Regions from separate parts of the Homo sapiens genome. Here all the other regions are linked to region 1. Evidence: promoter capture Hi-C in 16 types of primary human blood cells and fetal thymus (Javierre and others, 2016). All regions are on one chromosome and are shown on one strand. Each heading gives the region's core, a stretch centred on a gene start or on the middle of the fragment in contact. The rest is flanking DNA. Distances are from core to core; before and after follow the strand shown.

The links. Contacts are between HindIII fragments. The CHiCAGO score rates a contact against its expected background, and 5 or more counts as called.
Region 2: a fragment that was not itself captured here is called in contact with the fragment with the promoter of RPL7 in region 1 in 1 of 17 cell types (non-activated CD4 T cells); the score reaches 5.7 in non-activated CD4 T cells.
Region 3: a contact is called between the fragment with the promoter of MTDH here and the fragment with the promoter of RPL7 in region 1, in 4 of 17 cell types (activated CD4 T cells, naive CD4 T cells, non-activated CD4 T cells and 1 more). The highest score is 8.8, in activated CD4 T cells.
Region 4: a contact is called between a fragment that was not itself captured here and the fragment with the promoter of RPL7 in region 1, in 2 of 17 cell types (total CD4 T cells and activated CD4 T cells). The highest score is 10.1, in total CD4 T cells.

The regions. Positions count from the first base shown.
Region 1 is chr8:73,291,672-73,295,323 of GRCh38, reverse strand. RPL7 (ribosomal protein L7) reads left to right here and starts at 1,691. Exons shown (of 7, transcript NM_000971.4): 1 at 1,691-1,725; 2 at 2,527-2,635; 3 at 2,919-3,085; 4 at 3,414-3,551. The coding sequence starts at 1,712. RDH10 (retinol dehydrogenase 10) reads right to left here and starts at 722. Exons shown (of 6, transcript NM_172037.5): 1 at 1-722. The coding sequence starts at 34. RefSeq lists a silencer at 30-989 and enhancers at 1,080-1,569, 1,023-1,730, 1,690-2,049, 2,060-2,109, 1,731-2,439. The HindIII fragment of the contact is 6,100 bases long and covers 1-2,941 here.
Region 2 is chr8:17,912,499-17,916,150 of GRCh38, reverse strand. LOC124901892 (endogenous retrovirus group K member 25 Env polyprotein-like) reads left to right here and starts at 164. Exons shown (of 1, transcript XM_047422511.1): 1 at 164-3,652. RefSeq lists an enhancer at 3,079-3,652. The HindIII fragment of the contact is 2,687 bases long and covers 429-3,115 here.
Region 3 is chr8:97,642,096-97,645,747 of GRCh38, reverse strand. MTDH (metadherin) reads right to left here and starts at 1,564. Exons shown (of 12, transcript NM_178812.4): 1 at 861-1,564. The coding sequence starts at 1,241. RefSeq lists silencers at 435-603, 887-956, 1,227-1,686, 1,867-1,976 and enhancers at 1-733, 734-1,714. The HindIII fragment of the contact is 3,502 bases long and covers 1-2,349 here.
Region 4 is chr8:52,712,866-52,716,517 of GRCh38, reverse strand. It overlaps RB1CC1 (RB1 inducible coiled-coil 1), which reads left to right and starts at 2,083. Exons shown (of 24, transcript NM_014781.5): 1 at 2,083-2,443. RefSeq lists enhancers at 1,519-1,568, 1,589-1,898 and silencers at 1,959-2,128, 2,159-2,628. The HindIII fragment of the contact is 3,580 bases long and covers 1-3,433 here.

The DNA.
Region 1 (3,652 bases), core at 442-2,941:
AAGTGACCACGAAGAACTCCACCACGATGTTCATCGCGACGCCCGGGGCCCCGCACGAGCCCAGTGCCTGCGTCCGCGCCCACCCCGAGCCCGGCAATCGGGCTCCCGGCTCCGGGGCGCTTGTCACAGAGGCCGGGACGAGAAGGCTGCGCCCCGCGCCCGCCCCCGAGGTGCCCGCCGGGTTGGAGTGCGCGGCGCCGCTCCCTGCCTGCGCGGGGCCACTCCCGCCCGGGCTCGGCGCTGTGGCCCCGGACTGTGCCCGCCGCGGCAGTCACCCGGCTCGGCGCCTCCTGCCGGCAGCCGCCCGCCCGTCCCGCAGCGCCCGGCCGGCCGGCTCCGCTGCAGTGGCGGTGACAGCCGCGAGTTAGACTACTCGAACTGCCCTCATGGCCAAGCTGCTGCCGCCCGAGCGTCCCCGGAACCGGCGCGCCGGCTCCCTCTCACCCCGGGGGAGGGGTGCGCAGCGGAGGCGGCACGGGCCAGCGGGCTGCCGCGGGAGTTGTCAACTCGACCCAAGTTGCGAGAGGGTGGGAGAGTGGGGTGCGGGGCGGCGGAGCGCCGGGAAGGGGAGACTCGCTCGGCGCAGGCAAGCGCTGCCCAACGCCTTGCAGCTGCCCCCGAGGGCTCGCGTTCCCCGGCCCTGCACTCTCCGCGGGTGTCACTCGGGCACTGGGCTCCGCAGCGCAGCCCGCTTGCAAGTCAGAGCGCTCCGGGCCGGCTCTGAGCGGGCTCCACGCTCCGCGCTATATAACCCCGCGACCGGGAAGAGCCCGCGCCAGCCTCGGCATCGGCCCTCCCTCCGCCCGGCCTCCCCGCCCCCGGGCGCACCCCGCCCCCGGCCCAGCCCCCAGCCCGCCAGCCGTCCGCGGAGCCGAGCCGGGTAGCCCCTCTCACACGGCCGTGGCCGCAACCTCAGCCCTCCTCGCACCTCCCTTCGCAGCTCACGCCCCCTCCCGTGGGGTGTCCTGGCCTCCGCCTGCCGAGCTCGGCAGTCAGCAGAGCCCCGGCCATCCTCCTCCGGCCGTCCGGTCCCCACTGGTCCCTGGCTAGCCACTTTTCGTAAGCTAGAGCACTCCAGACCGCCCCGCCTGCGATCAGGCGCTGCGGAAGACAGCCCTGTGGGCTGGAGCGACGACAAGGACCTCGCGGAGCGGCGAAAGGGGTGTAGTCTGCGACTACCGCGGCAGGGAGCCGGGAGGGCGGCCAAAAGTGACTTCGAATTGCAGCTAGCCGTTTGGAACGTGGCCCAAGAGGCTCTCATTTTCCTGGCTGGAACCGTCGCCGCGGTGCTTGCCTGCGGTCCTGGTCAGCCGTTGCCCTCCCGCCGGGCGGGCGAAGACTGGTGCATGCTGGGATTTGTAGTTCGTCCCCATGAGGCTCGTCCTGGGAACATTATGGGGAGGAACGGAGCCTAATCCTGTCAGCGCAGCCTGGGGATTAGGACCCGGAGTTGCCAAGGTGTCAGCACTCTTTGCTCTTGAATTGATTAAAAAGTCTAATCAAATGCATATATTTTCTTCAAACAAGTTTTACCCGAAAGTTTGTTGAAAGAGGCTAAATCAGGGAGTTCTTTGCGTCTGCAAGGCGGCTTTTTAGTTCTGGATTCTTTTCCGGCTTATTCTAAGACACCTATGAGTCGTGGGGCTTCTCTCGCGAAGTCTTTAAGTGGACAGTACGCATGCGCCAACTTCCTCTTTTTCCGGCTGGAACCATGGAGGGTGTAGAGTGAGTTGCTTCTGGTCCTCTTGAGAATCCTTCTCCATCTCCAGAGCCAGATACTTTTTGTGTCACTTTTTCTCTCTCTGGCCGTAGCTTGCACCTTTGCCCACCTCCCTGCTTGATTGTGAACGCTGTGTGACACCAGTGGGGACCTGAGGCTAGGGTTGGGATGCGGGCGGTCTTAGGACGGAGGTTTTGGAGATCCCGGGAACGAGATGTCGGGTTGGAATGTGTGTGGAACCCGTCGGTTGGCTGACGGCCCAGTCCTCGGTAGAGGGTCTTTCGGGGGAGGCGCAGAACCTCTGAATTGTGTTCGTCCTTGGCTGGTGCTTGGTACAGGCCTCCCTGCCGCCAGGCCTTTGCTTTCAACATGTGGATCCTGATTGAACCAGAGTGGTGGTGGCTTGTTTTTTTTTTATTTTTATTTTTTAATTTTTGCGCTTAAAGTCTCGGGGTCAGTGCCTTGCAGTAGTCTTTCAGCTAGTACATTTTGTTATTCGGGTGTTGGTGTGTTTTTTTTGTTTTTTTTTTTAATTAGTCGTCGGAGGCCGGGCCTCTTGGTTGAAATAGGGAAAAACGTATTGCTATTGTCATATTTGTGATTGCGTTTTAGGCAACATGGTGTTAAAGGTTATTGACATGGAGCTAAAATATGCATCGTACACTGTAGCATGCCAGAGCAAGTAAAGTTACTAGTGACTAAAGTCAGTGACAGCATTTCTGGTAAACAACACTGCTCAGTACGGGAGTAATACAGCGCTGTGAGCTTTTTGAGCTATTGATAACATTTTTGTTTATTAACGTTAGAGAGAAGAAGAAGGAGGTTCCTGCTGTGCCAGAAACCCTTAAGAAAAAGCGAAGGAATTTCGCAGAGCTGAAGATCAAGCGCCTGAGAAAGAAGTTTGCCCAAAAGATGGTAAGTAAACTTTTTGAGGCACTAGCACATAAGGAGGCGCCTTATTGGGATTGAGGATGAGGTGAATGTTCTTGGCAAGATTTACTTCCTAACTGTACTGAGTAATTGCTTAGCTACCTAATGTTACAATCTGAAGGTAGTGGGGTTTTTTGGTGGGGGATGTAATTGCATACTGTGGCAAGAAAAGATTTAAAGGAAACATGTTGTAGTTTTCTTTTTAATGATTGGCATTGCTAATTGTGATTGAGCTAAAAATTATGAATAACTGATTATTGGTTTTCAGCTTCGAAAGGCAAGGAGGAAGCTTATCTATGAAAAAGCAAAGCACTATCACAAGGAATATAGGCAGATGTACAGAACTGAAATTCGAATGGCGAGGATGGCAAGAAAAGCTGGCAACTTCTATGTACCTGCAGAACCCAAATTGGCGTTTGTCATCAGAATCAGAGGGTAAGTTCAGTTTTACTGCATTCGGGTTTGAATGGGAAAAAAAAAAAAAACCTTCACATTACTTCTGGGAGCCCTGATTCTGAAACACCGGAGTAACAATATTTTAGGGGAAGCTAGAACAAGGAGGGTGCTGATCACTAATGGTTTAGTTGCAAGCCATGTTCCCCAAGCTCCTATCCCTTCTCTTAATAGAATACAGAAATTCAGTGTGTAACATGAGAGGATTCCTATCTGTTTAGGTAGGATTCGATATTCAAAACTATAATGGTTAGTATTAATAAAAATTTCGATGAAAGGCAAATGCATTTCTGGTCCGTTTTCACCACAGTATCAATGGAGTGAGCCCAAAGGTTCGAAAGGTGTTGCAGCTTCTTCGCCTTCGTCAAATCTTCAATGGAACCTTTGTGAAGCTCAACAAGGCTTCGATTAACATGCTGAGGATTGTAGAGCCATATATTGCATGGGGGTAAGTCTCTTTTCTCCTTTGATTTCTATTTGATAAATTGGTTATGTAGCAACATGAATTTTAGATGTTTTAACAGTGGTCACCTTATTTATGTTTGCTTT
Region 2 (3,652 bases), core at 523-3,022, about 55 Mb after region 1:
CCTGTGGTCTGACGGGCTATCTGCTTTCACATCCTGTTCTGTTAAGCCCCTCTGCCACCTCTCCCCATGGTCACTCTATGATCACCCAACCATCTGCCCACCCTCAGCCCATAGGATCAAAGGAATTGTACTCAATAAACATCAGTGGAATCCAGAGCTCAAGGCCTTCGCAGTTTCCGTGTTGTGATGGAACCCTGGACCCACTTTTGTTAACTCTTGAACTTTGTGTCTTTATTTCTTTTCTCATTCCTTCATTTCCACCGGGAAGGGGAGAACACGCATGTGGTGTAGCGGGCTGGTTCCCCTACATCTTTGGCACCCAGTGTGGGCTCCTTGTACCCAGGTGGAGTTACACCTGAGCATGGTCATTGCGGAGACCAGTCTGTCGAGGGACTCCCAAGAACGTGTGGTCGGCCTTGCGGTAAGCTTGTGTGCTCGGAGTATTCCAGGGACACCATGGGACAATCGGGAAGTAAGCACTCTGCTTACTTACACTTTATCAAACTCCTCTTAAAGAGGGGGGTAATAAAGGCTAGCACAGAAAACTTGATTACTCTGTTTCAAACAGTAGAGCAGTATTGCCCTTGGTTTCCTGAATAAGGTACCATGGATTTAAAAGATTGGGAGCAGGTTGGAATTGCCTTAAAACAAGTTCATAAGGAAGGAAAACTTATTCTTCTAACGGTCTGGTCAGACTGGGCTATGGTTAAAGCAGCCTTGGAACCGTTTCAAATGGAAAACGAGGTTTATCCTCCGGCAGAAAGAATTCCAGCGGAGGAAGGCGGTGCTGCCGCCAATATAAATATAAAGGAAGTTGAAGGAGGAGAGGATAGTGAAGAAGATTTTGAGGAAAGTACAGACAAACCTGGAGATGACTTAATTTCTTTTGAGGAGCATGTGGGACCTCCAGCTGCTCCTAAAATAGAGAAGCTATTTATGCCAATATGTTTAAAACAAAGAAGGGCCTTGAGGAATCTTTGGCTCCTCATTGGGATCATCCGGAGTGGCCACCTCCAATAAGGCAACGTAACCTGGAGCCTTGGAGGTTTGAATCTCCAATTTGCCCTGTTTCACGAATGGATAAATTAGGGGCTCAGGAATCAAGAACACGTTTTGCAGCACCAGTACAGCATAGGGCTGCACTGCCACCTAATGTCAATGAATCACCATTTCAAATGGTTATTCGGCAGGCTAGGTTAGCTGGAGATCCCGATGCCTGGCAGTTTCCAGTAGTTTTGGAACTCCCACAGCAGCAGGGTGGTGCCCATCAGGCGGTATGGGAACCATTTTCTTTTAAGCTGCTTAAAGATCTCAAAGCAGCTGTTGGTCAGTAAGGTCCCAATTCGCCTTCTGTCCAGTCACTATTACACTCAGTAACTCAGGACAAGCGATTGGCCCCGGACGATTGGGAGATTTTAGCAAAAGCTACTCTTTCGCCCTCCCAATTTCTTCAATTTAAAAGTTGGTGGACCGATGAGGCTCAAAATCAAGATCAAAAAAACCGTGCTGCTAATCCTGTTGTTGCCATTTCACTTGAACAACTGTTGGGAGTTGGGGGCCAATGAGGAACTGTACAACAATTAGTGCTTCAGGATGATGCCGTTGAGCAAATTCGCAATTGTTGCTTGAGGGCATGGGAAAAAATTCAGGACCCGGGAACTACTTATCCCTCTTTTAATTCTGTCAGACAAGGCTCAAAAGAACCGTATCCTGATTTTATTGCTCCTCTTCAAGATGCAGCTCAGAAGGCTCTCACTGATGAAAGTGCCAGGAAGGTGATTATAGAATTCTTGGCTTATGAAAATGCCAACCCTGACTGTCAATCACCTATTCGCTCTGTGAAAGGAAAGGTTCTGGTGGGAGTTGATGTAATCAATGAGTATATCAGGGCATGTGATAGATTGGTGGAATCATGCATAAGGCTATGATAATGGCTCAAAACATGGCAGGATCAAAGGTGGGAGATCCAGTGAAAAACTTTTCAGGCAATTGTTATAACTGTGGGCAATTTGGAAATACAAAAAAGGAATATAAGAACAAATCAAACAAACAATCCAGATCTAATCAAACAAAGGAGCCACCTGGCTTATGTCCCAGGTGCCAGAAGGGTAAATGTTGGGCTAAACGGTGTCACTCCAAATTTGATGAAAATGGCCAACCCTTGCAGGCGCAATTGGGAAATGGGAAGAGGGGCCAGCCTCAGGCCCCACTCCAAACTGGGGCATTCCCTCTCCAGCAGTTTGTCCGTCAGTGGGCACCAGTGCCCTTAATCCCTCAAGTGACCACCACAGTAACATAATTGGCGCCAGTTACAACAGGGGGCGCTGCTTTAGATTTATGTTGCACCAGAGCTGTGTCTCTGCTTCCAGGGGAACCACCTCAAAAGGTGCCCTCTGGAGTATTTGGCCCTTTACCTGAGGTAACAGTTGGACTTGTTTTAGGGAGATTTAGTCTAAATTTAAAAGGAGTTCAAATTTATACTGGAGTGATAGATTCCGATTTTGTGGGAGAAATTCAATTGGTTATTAGTTCTAGTATTCCTTGGAGTGCAAGCCAGGCAGAGAGAATTGCTCAATTGTTGTTATTACCTTATTACCTAATTGTTGTTATTACCTAAGTAGGAGAAAGTACAGTAAAAAGAGAAGGTGGTTTCGGCAGCACTGATAGCAAAGGAAAAGCAACTTATTGGGTAAGTCAAGTTTCTGAAAATAGACCTGTGTGCACAATAACGATTCAGGGAAAACTCTTTGAAGGACTTGTCGATACAGGCGCTAATATTTCTGTTACAGCCCTGGATCAGTGGCCAAAAACATGGCCCAAACAGAGAGCTTCTATGGGTTTAATTGGAATAGGCATGGCATCTGAAGTTTATCAGAGTGTTACAATTTTACACTGTTTAGTACCAGATGGACAGGAAGGCACCATCCAACCTATAATTACTGCCATTCCCATTAATTTGTGGGGAAAAGATTTGTTACAACAGTGGGGTACGGAAATCACCATTCCCTCTATGATTTACAGTTCAGAGAGTCAAAGCATGATGACTAAGTTGGGGTATACTCCTGGAAAAACATTAGGAAAGAATGAGGATGGAATAACTCAGCCAATTGAAGCTTCAGTTAAACTTGACCGAAAAGGAATTGGGTACTCTTTTTAGGGGCGGCCACTGTTGAGCCTCCAAAGCCCATCCCATTGAAATGGAAAACTCAAAAACCTGTGTGGGTTGATCAGTAGCCGCCTCCTCAGCAAAAACTGGAGGCATTACATTGACTAGCAAAAGAGCAATTAGACAAAGGACATATTGAACCTTCTTTCTCACCGTGGAATTCCCCGGTTTTTGTAATTCAGAAAAAATCCGGTAGATGGCGCATGTTGACCAACCTACGAGCGGTTAATGCAGTCATTCAACCGATGTGGGCTCTCCAACCGGGGTTGCCATCCCCAGTCATGATTCCAAGAGAATGGCCGGTGGTAATAATTGATTTGGGTCGGGCGCGGTGGCTCACGCCTATAATCCCAGCATTTTGGGAGGCCGAGGCGGGAGGATCACGAGGTCAGGAGATCAAGACCATCCTGGCTAACACGGGGAAACCCCATCTCTCCTAAAAATACAAAAAATTAGCCGGGTGTGGTAGCGGGTGCCTGTAGTCCC
Region 3 (3,652 bases), core at 315-2,814, about 24 Mb before region 1:
ATAAAGAATGTAAACGTAAAACATGAAGGCCTAAGACAGACGTGATGCCCTCTGCAACTTCCACACGTGGCCCAGTAAATCGGTGCCTGAATTCCTCTCTCGGCTTTCACCATTCTGCCCTGTCATCTCCCTTTACTCTATTTCACAAATCTACCACGCCACAGAGTGTGCAACAGACTCGTTCGTTGAACTCGCCTTAGCTCTTTCTCACAGGACCATACACCTCAAAGCGTATTAGGTAACCGACCCCCTCTTGCCTTGCTCCCGTTCCGGCCTCTGTTGGCCACATTTGCCAGAACAAGAATGGGCAACCATTTCCCTTTAACAGTCCCAACTAAAATGGAAGCGCGTCTAGACCTGGACACCTTTAATCCTGTGTAAGCCCCAGAATTTCTAGGTCACCGCACTTCTTCCACTGCCTACTGTCTCAATGTGACTTGAGATAGACATCTGTCTTCCGAGCGCAGTCTTTATACAACTTCCTAACACCACCTTAAGGTCCCATTACGCTCCACATGCAGCCTACTCTGCAGGCCTCAAGGAAGGATGCTGTGCTTATTCTAGCGGTGACGGTTCCCAAAGATGGCTTGACCTCTGGGCGCCTATCTGAACGGACCCCCAGACCTCCTAACTTCCTTCCTCGAAACTGGGCTTCCCCACTCGTCCTATACTTCCTGAGTTCCCCCCATTCCCCAAATAACATGACCACCTATCACCTCCTCCTCCACTTGGGAGTGCTGCCTCTCGGCTTTCGACTAAGCACTCTTTTCCTTCCCGGCTGGGGCGCGGCCTCCCCCAAGCTCGAGGGTCTCCACGCCCGCCCTTCGCCCGTTCTCTACTGCCGCTCATCCCATACTCACTTTGGGCTTCTCGGACAGTTTCTTCCGGTTCTTCTTCTTCTGTTCCTCGCTCCGGAGATTCTTCAGCAAGGCCAGGTCGTCGGGGGCCGCGGCCGGCACGGCCGCCGCCTCCTCCCGCTTGCGGGGCGGGCTCCTCCGCTTTTTGCGGGCGCCGGCGCAAGCCGCGGCCCAGCCGTAGCCCAGCAGAAACAGCAGCAGCAGCCCGAGCGCGCCAGTGCCCACCAGGATCACCCAGCCGGGGTACCGTTTCGGCTCCAGCCCCAGGTCGAGGCCCAGCTCGGTGCGCAGAAAGCCTAGGCCGACCGAGAGCATTTCCCGCAGCCGGGCCGAGCCCTCCTCGGCCTGCTGGGCCAGCTCGTCCTGCCAGCTCCGTGCAGCCATCTTCCCTCCCGTCAGAGGGACTCGCAGGATGACGCCGGGGCGCGGAGACGCAGTGGAATAGTCGAGGGAAGCGAGGAAGGGCCGGGCCGGGTAACCTCAGGCCGAGCGCATCGCGGCCGTCCCTCGCGCCGGAGCCGGGGATCGGCCGCTGCCACCGCGGGGAGGGCGGAGGGGTCTCCCAGGTTCCCCGCTGTCAGCCTCACTCCGCCGCCGCCAGGAGACCCGGGAGGCGGGAGGGAGTGTCTCCAGTGGCGGCCGCTAAGCGGCGTCTCGGCGCCAGCGCCAGGCCCCGCTGTCCTCCCTCGGCGGAACAATGGCGGCTTGGGCCGCGATCCACGCCGCGCGCGGGGACGACCGTGGGTCACGTGGGCGCCAGTGGGCGGGGCGTGGGCGTCACGTGGGGGCGGGCGGGGTCGGGTGGGGCAAAGGCGTGTCAGGGAAGGTTGGCGGTGGTCGGTTCGGGCCTGGTTAAGACGCGGCGTTGGGGACCCGTTACTGTAGACCAGAAGCTGGGAGGGGTTAATTGGTGGACGCCTTCGCGGGGTGGCTGGTGGCGCAGAGTTAGGAGACGTGGCGCAACGAATGAGTACAGAGGAGGGGCTCCGTGCAAGGCGGGGGCGGGCGGGGGGCGGGTAGGGCTGCAGCGCTAGGAACCGGGTCACCGGGTCTAGGTCAAAGTCGCCCTGGCAGGTATAGGGCTCTTCATGCCTTTTTCTGGAGTGTTATTGAGGTGGAATCGCTTTTTCTCCCTGGTGGCGCCAGTTGGATCCTTCCAGAATGAGCTCAACGGAGTCTGACGCCGAACACTGTTCTTCCGGGACCTAGGTTTAGTTCACAAATTGGGTATTTCTCTCCAGGGTGTTTCTCTCCAGGGCAACTAATACACTGCGTGCCTACCAGTTGCCAGCCTGGCGAGGGCACGTTTGCGTCGTTTGGCTCATTCACTCTTGCTCTCTGTTGTTAGTCCCCAGAATTCAAAAGTTGGAAAGCCCGTGGGCGGCACTATTCTTTTCCTACTAATTTGTAGCTTTAATAACACATAAGGGGAAGCACATTAGATTGTATTTACTTATGGAGGGAGCTTTCTCGTTACGTTTTATTTTAAGCTTTTCTACAACACTGCAAAAGGGGTTTGCAAAAATTCCATTTTTATATGCTATGTTGACCATCTCTGGGATGCAGCTATAGAAGGAAACGAACTGCCTTTTCAAATTTTTTTTTTTTGAGACAAGAGTCTCGCTCTGTCGCCCGGGCTGGAGTGCAGTGGCACTATCTCCGCTCACTGCAAGGTCCGCCTCCTGGGTTCAAGCCATTCTCCTGCCTCAGCCTCCCGAGCAGCTGGGACTATAGGCACCCACCACCACGCCCGGCTAATTTTTTGTATTTTTAGTAGAGACGGGGTTTCACCGTGTTAGCCAGGATGGTCTTGATCTCCTGACCTCGTGATCCGCCCACCTCAGCCTCCCAAAGTGCTGGGATTACAGGCGTGAGCCACCACGCCAGGCCTTCAGGTTTTAATTATAAGGGAAATGCTTGAAGGCTGCCTTAGGGTTTTAAGATTATATTTTGCTATAAGGAAACTCTGTATTTTATCGGTAAATGATCATTAGCGTGTAAGCAACTGTCTTAAGTGAACTAAATACAGGCTTTCTCAAGGAATACAGCAGGGGTAATATTAATAACCACCAAATACCAAAAATGTATTTTGACCTATTTTGCAACAGTGTCGTAATGCATATTGTGATTCATGTGTGGAAGGGAGTTTTGTAAATAATAAATAATAAAAGCATACTACACTTGCCAAGACTTATGATTAAAGACTAAATTAAATTAGGAGGCCAAAAACTTAGCAAATGTTATTGGGATCTGCTTTAACTCAAAGTTTCCAAATTCCATTTATATTTGTGAAATAAGATTTCTGCACGTGTTTTGGTTCTAGAGATGTGAAGGGTCATGATTTTCCTAAGAAGTTCCACTGACTATTCTGACCATTCTAGATAAACATCTGTGAATTTTTTATTTTTTATTTTTTGAGATGGAGTCTCGCTGTGTTGCCGAGGCTGCAGTCGCCCTGACTTCGTGATCCGCGCGCATGGGCCTCCCAAAGTGCTGGGATTACAGGCGTGAGCCACCGCTCCCGGCCCACCTGTGAATTTTCAAATTAAACTATTACAATAATGGCTGGTGCTGTGGCTCACGCCTGTAATCCCAGCTACTCAGGTGGCTGAGGCATGAAAATAACTTGAACCCAGAAGGTGGAGGCTGCAGTGAGCTGAGATCGTGCTACTGCACTCCAGCCTGGGTGACAGAAGGAGATTCTGTCTCAAAACAAAACAAAAAAACCTTTAAATTGAAGTGGTGCCATATGTAAAGAAGTTAAAATCAAGTCTGGCCTAAAGTGGGAATTCTAA
Region 4 (3,652 bases), core at 394-2,893, about 21 Mb after region 1:
TTTCCTCTAGATATTTGCATATATATAATAGAATTAATGTTAGTACATTTTCACTTATCCCTAGGAAAGAATTACTGATGTTTGTTAAGAGTCTGTTAAGAATATACAAACTCTTAACATTTACACTGGAGGTGTATAAGGTATGAACCAGTCGTTTCTGGTAATTTATTGCAACCTGTGATTAAGAGAGAAGGTTAGGACTGAATTAATTCATTTTCCAAAGAAAAAAGTCAGACAACATTTATAATTTACCAGATTATCACTGGCATAGTTCAGAAATTTTTTTTTATTTTTCAGACAGGGCAACAATCTGTTGTCCAGGCTAGGAGTGCAGTGGTGCCATGATGGTTCACTGCAGCCTCGACCTCCTGGGCTCAACTGATTCTCCCACCTCAGCCTTCTGAGTAACTGGGACCACAGGTGTGCATCACCACGCCCAGCTAATTTTTGTATTTTTTGTAGAGAAGGGGTTTCACTACGTTGCCCAGGCTGGTCTCCAACTCCTGGGCTCAAGCAATCCTCCTGCCTCGGCCTCCCATAAGTGCTGGGATTCCAGGTGTGAGCCACTGCACCGAGCTCCAGCAAGATTTTTACATTCTAAATTGGGTTATATTTGTAATAATGAATGTCACTAATAAGAGGAAGTGCAAGTACCAATACGTTCTTTACAGGCCTCATACTGCAGTTTTTCTTTTCTTTCTTTTTCTTTTCATTCTTGGTCATACTGCCATTTTTCTTAGCCAATTTTCTGGCCAAACTCCTCCTCACCACTTATTTTCTGTGTGCTGATGACTATGCTTTACTACTAAATTTGGCTCTTTTGTCTTGCCAGTTCACACCTTCCCTTAAGGCATAATAACCATTTACTACTTAATTTTCGCTTTTCTCCTCTATCTTGCTGGGGTGGTGTAATAAAATTCCAGCTTAACCAATAAGTAAAATGGCTTGCCAGTGATGATAAAGACCACATTTGTTTGGGATATGTAGCAGCACAAATTTAAAAGTAAATAAATAAAACAAGCCCATCTCAATCCTAACTTACAGATACTGGTCAGTGTGACTGAAAACTGAAATTGTTCATGCTAACCAACGTTTTTCAGTTTCCACCTAACATTTTGTTCAGTTTGGTGCCCTCTTGTGCCTCCTATTTTTACAAACACAACTCAGAATTCCTGATGACTTTAGAGAAGGCACCTCCAAGTTTTCACTCATACCAGATATTCCTGGATATAACAGGAATTTGAGAACTATTATGTAATTATTCTACGTGTAACATCTGCTCATCAGATTTTAATATTCAAGCCTCGTGGCTTCAAGTCATTGCCTGTGACTGATCATCTTCACAAATGCAAGAGTCCCCTGAAACTGTCTCCCAACCATTAGGGTGCTCATGCTAACCCCTAACCCACTAGACCCACTACAAGATTCAGTATTTGTAAAGCTGAAAACGTGGTTGTGGCGTTTACATTTTCATTCCGATTGGCCTAGGCTTCCCTCTCTTCTCTCTTGCATGTTTTCTTGCCTTACCTGGTCTGAGAAATGGTGCCGCCCCACCCTTGCAGAGTTAACAGGGGGACGCTTGCCAGCTGCGTGCAGTCCCGGCGGTCCGGATATGCGGGGAGGTGGCGGCAGGAACGCCTGGGCCAGGCGCTGGTACGTTATCCTGTTACAGACCTTGGCCTAGTCCGCAGGTTGCCCCTGGAGAGGCGACGGGGACACCAGACCCTCGATTGGCTCCGCTCCTCCGCGACAGGCTGAGGGGAACAAGCTCTCTTTCGCCTGGGGACGATCCAGTGTTTGGTGGGTCGACCTTAGTCAGGGCCTAGCTGTCGCAAAGAAGGTCAAATTCACCTTGGGAAAGTACGCACCGGGACGGCAGCTAGCACCATAACAGGCGGCCCCAGCGGAGTCTCCCAGGGTCAGGCCAGGACAGCCAACCTGCCGGCCGGAGAGCCGGAGGCGGGGCCGCCCCCTTCCCGGCAGGCTGCCGACTTCCGGACCTGCGTAGACGCCTCTCTGCGCCTCCAGGCGCGCCCCTCCCCCGGCAGGCCGTTTCCCGGCATGCGCCGCGGAGGAAGAGACGGAGTCGACAATAACAAACCAAGCCGCGGCGGTGTCCGCGGCCCTGCCGAGCCCTCGGCGTTGCCTCAGAATCCCCCAGTCGCCTGGGCCCCTCGGCTCTGACAGGCCGCGGCCTTCTGTCCCCCGGCCCCAGACCCAGAGCCGAGGGGCCTGCTCGCGTCCTTGTCCGCCCGGACCCCTCCCTGCCTCCTAGAGTTCGGGGCCGCGGCGGGCGGGCGCCCGGGACGCCGGCGGTTGTGTCGGCTTAGCGGTGCCGAATGGGCGGTTGGTAACCGCTGCCGAGGACTAGGCGGCGGCGGAAGATGGTGCCGGGGGTCGCTGGCTCTGCTGCTGCCGCCGGCGAAGGAGGAGGCGTTGCCGGGTAAGTGTCGCCGCCGCCCGCGTCCCCTTCCCCCATCTGGCACAGCGGTCGCGCGGCGGGCCCTGGCACGGTGGGCCGGGGTCGCATGGTCCAGGGTTCCGGTCGGCCTGAGCCCGGCCCACGCGCAGGTGTGTGCACGGGAGGGCCCCGGCGCCTCCCGCCCCGGCAGGTGTTGCCCACTGGCCGCTTTCCCGGCGCGACAGCCCCTGTGGAGACAAAAGCGGTTCGAGTCGATGCTCCACTAGGCTGCCGGAGGTGTGGGTCGGACTCGTGCTGCGGGGCTGCCTGCGGCTTCCTCGGCCGGAGCCTTGGGATCCCTCCCTCTGCGCTGCCGCTTAGTACCCGGCCTAGTTGCCGGAGTGGCCGAGGGCGAGGGACGTCCGAACCTCCCAAGACGCATCTTGACTTGTGCTCATCGCTGCCAGGGATCAGCCCTTAATTCTGTGTTGGACTCGAGAAACGGGAGAGTGGAGTTTGGCCGAGGCCGAACGAAGCTCACCGAATGGGAGGAACGGAGAGATGATGTCTTTGTCCCGACCCCAGAGTGCGAGGATCGGTATAAAGTTACTCCTAGGAATGACTCAGCCTGCGCCCGCCCCACGGATAGATTTGGGATGGGTGTGCACGCGGATTTCACAGCTTCCTTGGTAGAAACAAAAATACATTAACCAACAGTAGAAATAGCAGCTTCTGAATGGAATATCTCTATAGTTTCTTCCACCGCCTGGTGGATGTGCTGTGTTTACTGTTTATGGTTTCGTAATCTAGTCGTTTCCATCATGACTCTTTAAAGTGTGGTCATACCTTGAAGTAGTGTAGACTTGGCTGCCAAGGAAGACTCATGTGCTCACTGTTGATAAAGAGTCACGTTACTACGAGACATTCAGCCAGATGGGAATGTTCTCAAGTCTGCTGCAAACATTTAAAGTGTACCTATTTGCTAACTATTTTATTGTGTAGTTTCTTAAGTTTTTGTGTTTTGGTGAAGCTTGTATGATTTATACATAAGTTTGGACAGTTAGCAATTTAGGAAGAGACTTAAGTAGACTTAATTGTGTGTTTAATCAAGAATGTTATTACATTGTGATAGACGATAAAAAGAGGGTCCTTCCACTTCTGATCAGATAAAACTGTGAGAAACCAAGGAACTACTGAGGGAGGTGGCTGATTTTAGTTTTTGGATTATTGGATTTATAAGCAGACCATTGC